Regions from separate parts of the Homo sapiens genome. Here region 2 is linked to region 1. The links are contacts of gene promoters, found by promoter capture Hi-C in blood cells and fetal thymus (Javierre and others, 2016). All regions are on one chromosome and are shown on one strand. The core of a region is centred on a gene start or on the middle of the fragment in contact, and the rest is flanking DNA. Distances in the headings are between cores, read along the strand shown.

Evidence for each region. The method cuts DNA at HindIII sites, captures the fragments that hold promoters and counts their contacts. A CHiCAGO score of 5 or more calls a contact.
Region 2: a fragment that was not itself captured here is called in contact with the fragment with the promoter of TM4SF4 in region 1 in 1 of 17 cell types (endothelial precursors); the score reaches 5.1 in endothelial precursors.

Annotation. Positions count from the first base shown.
Region 1 is chr3:149,469,980-149,476,153 of GRCh38, reverse strand. TM4SF4 (transmembrane 4 L six family member 4) reads right to left here and starts at 1,457. Exons shown (of 5, transcript NM_004617.4): 1 at 1,103-1,457; 2 at 242-331. The coding sequence starts at 1,276. The HindIII fragment of the contact is 4,396 bases long and covers 1,092-5,487 here.
Region 2 is chr3:149,410,749-149,416,245 of GRCh38, reverse strand. No RefSeq gene overlaps it. Among named protein-coding and RNA genes, the nearest start is that of TM4SF1-AS1, 36 kb to the right of the region's middle. The HindIII fragment of the contact is 2,040 bases long and covers 3,176-5,215 here.

The DNA.
Region 1 (6,174 bases), core at 208-2,707:
CATCCCTGTCGGTTTGTAAAATCTAATACAATATTCATACCCTATAAGTATGAGGGCTATGGTATTTTGGAAAATTATTATTATTTCACACTGGCAGGAAAAATCACAGTTTTATCCCTTCACCAGCTGCTCCCAGAGTCCTGGCTGGAGCTGATAACTTGTCTCCATCCCCATGCTGCCCAGCACAAAAGCACAGAGCACCCTGGAGTAATTCTAGTAGCTGCCCCCCATGGTAACTCACCGCAAATCGCTTCCCACAGCCCTCGTTGCCGCAGCACCCACAGCAGTCATTGTTCTTCAGGCCCAAGAACACCAGCGCAGGGAAGATCATCTACCAGGAGAAGAGGCACCTCAGAGAGAGTCCAGGAGTTGAAGGGAGGGCCCGAGCCTGCCTGACTGTATAAGGAGCCCCATCCACAATGAGGGATTTGGAGGCCCAAAGGGAATGGCAAAGTAACAGAGCATGGCTGGAGGGGTAATGGAGTGTTATGGAGTACTTAGATTCCATTTGGGCTGACTAACCAGCTTCAATGAGGCAAGATTTCAAAATCTGAGTTTCCATTTAGATGGTGTGTTAGAAAAAAGAATAACAAACTTTTCCTCAATTGTCATGAAGAGTGAGTCTCTCTCCCTTTCACTCTCTCAAACGGAGGTTCCCAATTCTATTGGAAACCAGAGGTAAAGAAATCATTAGGTCCTAAGTGGAAGACGACCACACTGACAACAGCTTCTCATGGTGGTTTTAAGTCAATTTGCTTTTCTAGTGGGTTTGCATCGTGGGTTTGTTGTTGTTATTGTTTTGGGCACTATCTTGTTGGAATCAAGAAACTATGCGACCTTCACTTCGGTTCATGGGACTCAAATGACCCATGAGAACTGTCAGCCCAAGCTTAGAGATTAATTACTTAGTAAATTTAGCTGACGTGTCCTTGTCAGATCCTAACAGAAACGAGAAAAAAATTAAGGCATTGACCTCTCACCATGCAATGCTTGAGCTTCTATTACCAACTAAATATCTCCCTGTTCAATAAGTACCTGATTTAAAAAGGATTGTGGGGAAGGGAAAATCTCCCTTAGGGGGATTTTAAGCTTCCCTACTCACCAAGACACCGCTTCCTAATATTCCTCCGAAAAACCAGATCTCTTGGGAAAGGTGGTCGTTGTCATCTATCACTTTTCCTCCAGGAAAAAATAACAGGATGTTAGCCAGGAAGCCAAAAAAAGCAAGGGGAATGAGGGTCCCCCCCAGGCATCTGGCACAGCCCCCAGTGCACATTCTGGGGTGGTACGACACAGGTCAGCAATCAAAAGCTCCTCACTGCCTCCTTCACGGGGCCTCTTCAAGGGTTTTTGGCCAGAGAGTCCTTGTAATTGTCTCCAATTCAATCAGTATTTTGGGGCTGAGAACCAAATTTCTGTGAACTGTGTCCTTGGAGTTGCTTCAGCTTCTCAAAAATAGCAGAACCTCGATGGCAATGGACATTTATACATTCTCCCTGACCTGAAGTGCTTTGTTTTTTGCACCCCCATAAATGAGATTACGTTCAGAGCAATCATTCAATCGTTTTGCCATGGAGACCAATAACCTCTGTTAATAATCCACCAGCACAGACAAGACACTCACATTGTTGCAATCGAAGACAGGGCTGGAACAAACAGCATTTAGAACCACTGCACCTTTAATCTGACAGTGCCCATGCCCAAATAAAGAAATATTTTCTCCAGACTCTTTATAAATCACTAATATAATTGAGTTACATCCTGGTTAAAATCATGTCTCCCAAGTACTTAATGGTGTACAGTGCGTGTCTTTGTCTTTTCCACTGAAAGCCTGGAATTCAGGGTTATCCAAAAGAGCTTCTGTTTTCCTCAATATCAAAATAATTTGATGGTCTAGTTGTGTATCATTGAGCTCAGACTTAAAAGAATTGTTTAAGGCAAAAAGCTACTGTTCATTTTATTGTCTGATTGCTGTGTTTCTCTACTTGTTACGCAATTAAGTAATTAAGTTCTATCTTTTCCCTACACGATGTGATGGAATTAGCAAAAACAGTTTTCCTAATCAACTTTCTCAGCTATGTCTTCCATATAGGAATAAAGAAACCATCATCCACTAAGGCTAAGGGGAAAGGAAGGTCAGCATTGGTAGAGAGGGAGAGAAAAGGTCCTGATGAGTTGACTGGGGAGAAGACACAGTTGGAAGAGCAGTTATAGAGTGCAGGAGGCAGTAAAACACACCCCTATTAGAAAGTTTGCCAACTGCCAGGGGCATGATTCATTCATTTGCTTTGTGTCACTTAAGAAGTTCTCTGCCACGCCTGGACCAAGCTCTACATTATGCGATGGCCCTGCCTGGTACTGGTATTACATAACAGCTGAAGGATTAAGAGGTGGAACTGGAAGTCTTACTAGTTCTTCATTGAGAATCTAGAGGTTAAAATAGGTCGAATATTTTAGGGAGTCAAATTTTAGCTAAATAAAAAGCAAGTGACATTATTACCATGGTAAGACCTGTCCTACCGTGGAATAGGCCACCTGCTCACAAGGAAGCCATGGACTGGGCTTTGCCAAGGCTCAGAGGCCCTTGGAAAGGGAAGCTGTGGGAAGGATTCCAGAAAAGTCAGACTGGAAAAATGTTGAGGCTCCTTCTAAAATTTCTAAGAAATGAGTACTGGTTGCTTTATAAAGATACTTAGAAATCTCAGGGTCAGGATGAGAAAGAAAGCAGAAAAACAGCAAATGTTTATTGAGCCATGCATAATACTCCAAGCACGAATGAGCACCTTAAATGTTCTTCACCCTTCTGTGAAGAAGGTGTCATGCCCCCTTCACAAGTGGGGATGCTTCTGCTCAAAGTGATTTTTGCAAGCTCATCTCAGCATAAGAAGAAGAGCTAAGATTTTATTTTTTATTTATACATACTATTTTACACATTTATGGGGTACGTGTGATATTTTACATGTGTAGAATATGTAGTGATTAAGCCAGGGTATTTGGGGGTATCCATCACTGAATATTGATCATTTCTATGTGCTGGGAACAATTTAAGTCCTCTCTTCTAGCTACTTTGCAATCTATAATACATTATCACTAACCATGGTCACTTTACTGTAATGTCAAACAACAGAGGTTATCCCTTTGGCTAACTGTATGTTCATACCCATTAGCCTACCTCCTCTCCAGCTCTGTGTTGCCAAAACCCAGGCTATGTTCTCTCTCATAGATTTTCCTTTTTGAAAACAAACAAACAACAAAACATCATCTTTTAAATATAAACAATAGAATGACACTGTGTGTGAGGTATATGCACACAGTAGGAGACCCTTCTGAACACAACAACAAACTGTGATTTTATTCCTTATTACAAAATAATGTGACTTTTTTTGGTAGAAAAATTGGATATACAGACAAGCAAAAGGAAGAAAAAGAAAACCAGCTGTGTTTCCACCAGAAGCAAACAAGGGCTGTCATCACTGTGCTGACAGCTGTTTTCCAACACTCCAGGCAGGTGCAAATGAACTTTATTTATAACCCACTGGCTTCTGACAGGGAGTCTTGAGCATATGAACTCTAAAGGCAACAGTCCTGGGGGTGAGTGGATTGGGTTAATCAAATGCATATGCTACTTAGAGCTAGGCAGCTTCTCTCTGGGGACTGGGCAGCTTTCTCCTTTCTCCCTGGACTACACCGTTTGCTTCTAGAAGTTACCATCATGGCATTTGACCAACACTAGCCCTGTTGTCCTAGATTTTTCAGATGCACAACTGGAGTTACCCATGTATACTGTCTGAGTGACTAGATGAAAGTAAGAAATATTGTGGACCACACTTCAGTTTTCTTTCAAGCCTGAGGTAACTTATTTCCTGGGTAGAGGAAGAGAAACACTGAAAAACAGTCACTTTCCTGGAATGCCCTGACCACTTCAGACTTCAAACACTTGGATAGTGACTAACTCATTAATTGTTCAATTATTAATTGTGCCTTCAGACCTCCAGGCAAGAAGTAGAATATCTAATCTGGAGAGAGGGAATCGTGGGGGGGATGGGAACCTTGGTGAAATTCACTCTCTGGAAGTGTAGCAGGGAGGTCACCAACAGACTGCTTTGGGGGCAAGGGAAAATTGTGTGAGATTCTGGGAATCATTTTTGTGATACTCCTACTTGATAGTTTATTGCTTATTCTGTTCCTCTGGGTGTTTAGCAGTGAAGGCTTTAAACCAAAAAGGCTAACTCCCTTGTTTTCAGAAACAGCAAGAAGGAAGTGGCTGAGGACACTAAGCCCCATTCTGTCACTAGCCTTCTATGGAGACTTCAGAAGTGAGAGCAAATAGTAGCCCTGGAAGGGATAGAAAGACAGGAGGGATCCTTGGGGGAAGAAAAGGAGAAGAATGTGAATATGGGCACTATCTCCATGGACCTCACCGGATGTGAGGTTTGACCATACGGGACTAAGCAGCAGGAAGTCTAGGGGTTCCTTCCAGTGATGCAGGAAGTCAATTCCTCAGCTAACAAGCACAGGAGCAGAAGACATTCACCCTGAAATGGGTGAAGAGCTGTCAATTCAGTGCAATCGATAAGTGTATTGTTACATGCATGGTATGTCCACCAATGTGCCAAATACTGTCCTTGTGAATAAAATAAATCTAAGACTTGCTTTCTGCCCTCAATGATGTTACAACCTTCTACTTGTGACAAGAGACAAGAGAAGCCATACACAGAGGTTAAATGAGTAACTGCCCCTTAGCAGAAGAACAAGACATGGCTTCTTCTGCTTGTCTTAAAGCAGAGCATTCTCATCTATTCACACAGAATATCAGGAAGAAGACAGGGGTCTCCACACATTTGCATTCAAATAAAATTCAGGTCTTCATCTTTGCTTACCTGGATGATGAAAATAGATTGTTAAAAGTGATTTTCCAAAGGAGGAAAAAAATAATAGAAAATATTAGTGGGCATTGCATGTAATAAGAGCCATTTTATGAAATTTTTGTTATGTGTGCATAGATGTTAGGTAATAATGCAACATGTTTTGCTTACTATAGGTCTTCAATCAAAAAATAAAGATCAAATCAGGTAGTGAAAGTTAGTGATCTTTATAAAGTGAGAACTAGTGATCTCTATAAATGCTAAACTGATATTACATTTTTGCTGAAAGCCTTCAGGAGGCTTCCATGGCCCTCAGATCTTAAACTTAGTCCTCCCTGATTTGTCTTCCAGCCAGATCAGCCCTCCTGTCTTCCTGCTTCCTGCTCTGCCCGCTTCTCCTGCTTTCCTGCTACACCCCTCCAGGACTCAGCTCAGTGGTCACTTTTTCTAAGAAGTCTTGTTTTATAAGAAAACTGTTTTACTGTCAAGATATGTTTGGGAAATCTGAATAACACAGAGCAAAATAGGGCTCTGAATGAGAACTTTTTAGGGCCTTTAATTTGCAAGTGCATGTGTAATTATTGGAGAGCTGAGAAATATAGTACCCAGCGTTTTCCAAGCTTCAATGCCTGCAGAACCCATCTTTTGTATCCTGTAGCTGGCAGGACCAGGATTTTCCAGAACATCCTTTGGAAAACTTGGAGCTTACTCATTTCCCAAGTGCTTGTGATGGAATCTGTGTTGGCAGAGAGAAAGTGAGGGGTGATTTGAGACAAGGAAGTATAACAAGAGCAAAGATGGAAGATGGGATGAAGCACGATTTGGGGAGATTGTGAGGTGCCAAGTTGGTGAGCTGGGAGCAGGGTTGAGAGCCAACTTGGCCTCCACGAACAAAGAAATGTGAAATATTTTGTCTAAGGGAAGACAGTCACTATTCTCTAAGAGCTCTGACGCTTCATGACTGACTCCTCCATGCCTGGGCCACTTCAACATGAGTGTTCCCTAAAGCACCGGGGTCCTGGGAGAGGCTGAACTACTAAAGGGCCACATGGTCTGGAGAACTAGAAGAAACAGACCTCCCTCTCAGATGTCTCTATCTCACTATCTAGAGTTGTCATCGAGCTCTATAGAAGCAAGCAATTACATGACATTATTGTCCCTATTTTAGAGATGAGGAAACAAAAACAAGTGGTAAACACTGTTCTGGTTATCTTTTTTTTTTTTTGGAACCGGGTATCACTCTGTCACCCAGACTGGAGTGCAGTGGCACAATCTCAGCTCACCAAAGCCTTCACTGCCTGAGCTCAAG
Region 2 (5,497 bases), core at 2,946-5,445, 63 kb after region 1:
ATGTGCAGTGTGACTCTCCTAGAATGCACAACCACAATCGCCCCCGTTTCCAGTCACACCAATCCCTACCCTTCTTCAGCTCCCAGATTTCCTGACCTCCCAAGTTTAGATCACGTGCCTTTCCTATATACTTCCTGAGAGTCCCCATCAGGACACTGCCATTGCTATGTCATGGAAGGGGAAACTGTTTATGTCTTGTTCACAGTTGTATCCTAAGCTCTCAATAAATGTTCAGGAAATGAGTAAATGAATCAATTGCCTTTAAGGAAATGGGCAGGGGGACAACACTGAGTGTGCTAAGGCCAGGAAGACCTTTATCTACATTCTCTTCTTTGGTCTTCACCATACTCTATGTGATAAAAATTATTATTTGCATTTTATAAACTCAGGGGGTTAAGTGATGTTGGAACCCAATGCTGGCAGACCCAAAGGATTTTCTCCATAATTTCACTCTGTCCCTCCATATTATAATATCACTCTATCCCCAAACGCAATGGCAAACAGTGATTGATAATTACTATGGCCAACCACAGGGCTATTTGTGTCATTCATTCAGTCCTCCCAAACTGCATGAAGTGGATGATGTCACCATTTGCAGATAAGGAAATGAGAATGCCCAAAGGTGAAGTGACTTGTTAAAAAGTGCTGTAAATTCTCCAAAATGAAAAATCGTGGTGAACTGGAGTGGACTGAGAAGACTCCATGGCAGAAGAGAGATTGGAGTTGATACTTGAAGAAAGGGTAGTGTTTAGATTCTAGAAGCAAAGTTGTTGGAGGGGTTTCTAGTTGGGGACAGAGAGAAGGGCATGAGTATTTGAGAAACAGTGAGAGGGCCAGGTGACAAGAGAGAAAGATCATGTCTAAGAGTAAAGGAAACATAAGATGCAGAGGTTGATTGGTTTATATTATGAAAAGCCTAGAAAAAGTGTATCTCAGAAGTTGTTTTTAAGGGAAATTGGAATAATTTTATGGAAATGACATGGTGAAGACTGTATTTTAGTTTTCCTTTCCTTTAAAATAGGAATTATATGTGATTTATATAATTTTCTTGTGGATTTAGCTTTAGCTAAAATGTTTTTTTTTCCTTAATAGGAATTATAACCCATCTTATCCCAGAGTTTCCACTTCTGAGAGCCAGAAACCATGAGAAATGGAAAGTGCTAAGAGCCCTTGAACTCTGCTATTTCAGGGTGGAGCAGGACATACCATTCCATTCAGTGAAAGACCTTCTGACTTTTTGTAGTTGAGAAAGCATTGGAGTCATATGTGATTTGTGTAGCAAGACCTTTGAAGTCAAATGGCTTCTGAGCAAAACTGTGAATTTCCCCTTCCCCTCCTCAATCACTTTCAAACTAAACTCAAAAACCATCAGCAAAGATCAAGTTCCCATGGTTTTTTTTTCCCTTCTATTTGGCCCTCATGCTCTTTCTTTTTGGCCCAAGTTTTCAAGGCAGGGTTTTCAAGGGACTCTTGCCTGTTTTTCATTGGCCTACTTCCTCCCATTCTCCTTGCCTTCCACAGAAGCACCCACACAGGAAGGGCAGACCTGTCCAACACCTGCTCTTCAATTGATGAGGCGCTCAGGGTTGTGTGACCTACACAAACTGTAGATTGAGAATCAAGTCTGAGGGAGCATGAGATGAGTATTTATCCACCTCTTCTCATGATAGAGCTGTGCACCAAGGAAATCTTTAGTCAGCAAATGTTTTAAATGCAGACAACCTCAGTACAGGTAGGAGCTGAGCATTTGTACTTCTGAGGCTTAACTTCTTCAGAGGGGCTCCCAGCTGGCTTGGGCACCCAGAAATTTCAGGCCCTGTGCCTTAGATTCGCTTCTTCAAGGTGACACTGCCCTAACAAAGGTGACTATATAATTTATCATACAGACCAGGACACTTCTAAAAATAAAAGGGATTGTGAAAAATAATTAAAACTATATAGTTTTAAAAATATTTGTTGAATGAAAAATTAGTTTCATTATTATTGAACTTATAAGATATAATAGTTCTATTCAAAAACTATTTTTATAAATAAAATTGCTTCCAAAAATAAAAATAACATATTCATATTTACTAAGGCAAAATGTAAAAAGACTTACTCATATCGATCCTTTGAAAATTAATCACATAAGAATAATTATTCTTGGTATGCAGTAACATACTTCACTGTATTTCCTAGATATACCTTGTCTCTAATACCATATCACAGTGTATGTTTTTTCTGAAGACTGTATATATTCTTTTTCAATAAGTTCTTTTTATTTTTAATTTTTCATAAAATTATCTGAAATAGCCTTCAAATTTGTATCTTATAATTAATTAATTTGAAACCATTAGCACCTTTTTTCTGTAGTTATATATCAAATTTTTAAAATTTACAGCTGGGAGCAGTGGTTCATGCCTGTAATCCCAGCACTTTGGAAGGCTAAGGCAGGAGGATCCTTGAGGTCAGGAGTTCAAGACCAGCCTGGCCAACATGATGAAACCCCGTCTCTACTAAAAATACAAAAAATTAGCTGGGTATGGTAGGGGGTGCCTGTAATCCCAGCTACTCAGGAGGCTGAGGCAGAATTGCTTGAACTTGGGAGACAGAGGTTGCAGTGAGCCGAGATGGTGCCATTGCACTCCAGCCTGGGTGACAGAGTGAAACTCCATCTCAATAATAATAATAATAATAATAGTAATAATAATTAAATGTAAGGTCTACATAATACTTGCTAAGTACAGAGAAAATTATAAACAGAAGAGTTTTAACCCTAATTTTATTTTTTGTATTGAAATATATATAAATATTTCAGTCCAAATATTTTTATAAATACTGTCATTTTTGCCTCTTTTGACTATCAGCTTGGTACCTTTGACAAACATTTTTAAAAAGGGAAAAATTATTTAAAAGTTCTCTATAATATGATTATTTGAGTGTTTGAACAAATATAGATACTGCAAAAATACAGGTCCTTTCCATTTCATTTTATTCTAGTACAGAATAGAAACTTATGCAACTAAAAATGAGAGGTCTACCAAACATTTTTTATATAACTTAAAATAGCCCAGAGCACAATCATGAAGCTTTAAAACTAAATCTTATAAACCATTTAAACTGTCATTTATTGTTTTGTTCAGTTCCTCCCATGCTTTTGTATTGCTTAATTTTAATATCTTCTTGTTCATAAGCTTTGCCTTCGATAATTGCAGTTTGCCAAAATTTAAAAGCTGAAGTTTTGGGGTGCTCTACTCATTTGATACCTTGATTGAAGATTTCCAGCTGATTTTGAATGAAATGCAACCAAAATTTAAAGGACACATTTACCAAAAAATGTCAATGCCAATATAAGATACTTATGTTGTGTTACAAATTTGTTTTTCAAGGACTCAAATGTTTCTAAAATCTAATTAATGATGAACAGCAAAGAGTGGGTTCACATGTTGCTATACCCAAGTATTTTCTTTCTTCAATATCAGTATCACCATGAAAACTATGTAGTTCAGTTATTTTATCTGCGTATATGTAAAAATGTTTGTGAGTTTTGGCAATACAGCTTCTATGTCAATTGGTAGAATATCATAGCTTGTTTAACCCAATTATGAGTCATGTGCATGGCAATCAATTCCAAGTACATTTTTGCTCTACAAGTTTAATTTAGTAAGAGCATTATTTTTTCCACAATGGTGTACATCGCCAGAATTTGTAAGCATATTATGGATGCAAAAACAAATCATTTAATCCTCAATGCTGTACTCTGTAACAGAATTTACAATAGCATTCGCAATAATCTCAGATGTTTCACTTTCAACAAAAGAAAATCCTAAAAGTTTTACTTTGATTCCCTGAATTGGATGAGAGCCTTCAACTGTCATCAGAGTTAACTAGATTTTTACTTGAATCACCAGATGACATTGATACAAAATTGAGGCCATTTTGGCAAGTTCTTCTTATGCTAATTATCCGCTATCATTTTTCACTAACACTTTACAAGTGTATGTACATGAGGAAACGGGATTTTAAAAGAACAAAATTAAAATAGATAAACGATCATTTAACCTAAATGAAAAGTTATGCTTTAAAAGAGGTTGTATAAATGCACCTTCTGAAGCTGCACCTGCTCAACTGTTGTCACATTCAACATGCGTCTTCTTAAATTTACCATTAACTTTCGAAGTAGACCCTGATGATTTTTCAGCAGATTTGTATTTCCTTGTTTTCAAGTGGTCAGTGATATCACAATGGGTCCCACGGTGGATGGCAAATGTCTACATTTTGTGCAAGTTTCACTTTAATCATTTACTTTCTTGAGAAATGGCAATTCTGTACTTGATTTTGTACTAAACTCATGTTTTCATTTCCTTGAGGTCACTGCTATTGAAAGGGTTTATTGTAAAATAAAAAAGCATTGCAGAACAACAAAATAGTCATGGATTTATTTGGATTTATGCCATTCAATTCAATAAATGGCAAAACAATTGCAGCATTCAGACTACACAGTAAGTTCTATGGCAGGACTTCTTGTCTTCTGTCTTCTGTACATACTTTATATGTACCTAACCCATAATTTCCCACGTTTTCCACCAACTTAGTGACTTGCTGACTTTGTGCATTTATAGAGAGTGGCACAAGCTGATAGACTGTCTGGCAGGGCCAGCAGCATAGAATATCTCTTTTACCACTACCTGAGACCAGGAGTTATCTGTCCCTAACTGCTCATGACTGAGTACAGGCATACCTTGTTTTGTTGTGCTTTACTTTATTGAGCTGTGTGTTATGGTTTTTACAAATTGAAGGTTTGTGGCAACCCTGCATTGGTCTATTGGTGCCATTTTTCCAACAGCATGTGCTCACATCATGTCTCTGTGCCACGTTTTAGTAATTCTAACTTTTTCCTTATTATTAGTATTTCAAACTTTTTCCTTATTATTATATCTGTCATGGTGATCTATGGTCAGTGATCTTTGATGTTACTATTATAATTGTTTTGAGGTGCCACAAACCATGCCCATATAAGACATTGAACTTAATCAATAAATGCTATGTGTGTTCTGACAGCTCCACCAACAAGCCTTTCCCCATCTCTCTCCCTCTCCTTGGGCCACCCTATTTTCTGGGACACAAGAATATTGAAATTGGGCCAATTAATAACCCTACAATGGTTTCTAAGTGTTCAGGTGAAAGGAAGAGTCTCACATCGCACTTTAAAGCAAAAGCTAGAAATTATTAAGCTTAGTGACGAAGGCATATGGAAAGCCAAGACAGGCCAGAAGCTAGGCCTCTTGAGCCAAAAACTTAGCCACATTGTGAACGCAAAGGAAAAGTTCTTGAAGAAAATTACTTCCAGGGAACACATGAATGATAAGAAAGTGAAACACCCTTCTCGTTGATATGGAGAAAGTTGGAGTGGTATGGATAGAAGATCAAACCAGCCACAACATTCCCTTAAGCCGAAGCTTAATCAAGAGAAAGGCCCCAGCTCTCTTCAATTCTATGAAAGCAGAAAGACGTGATG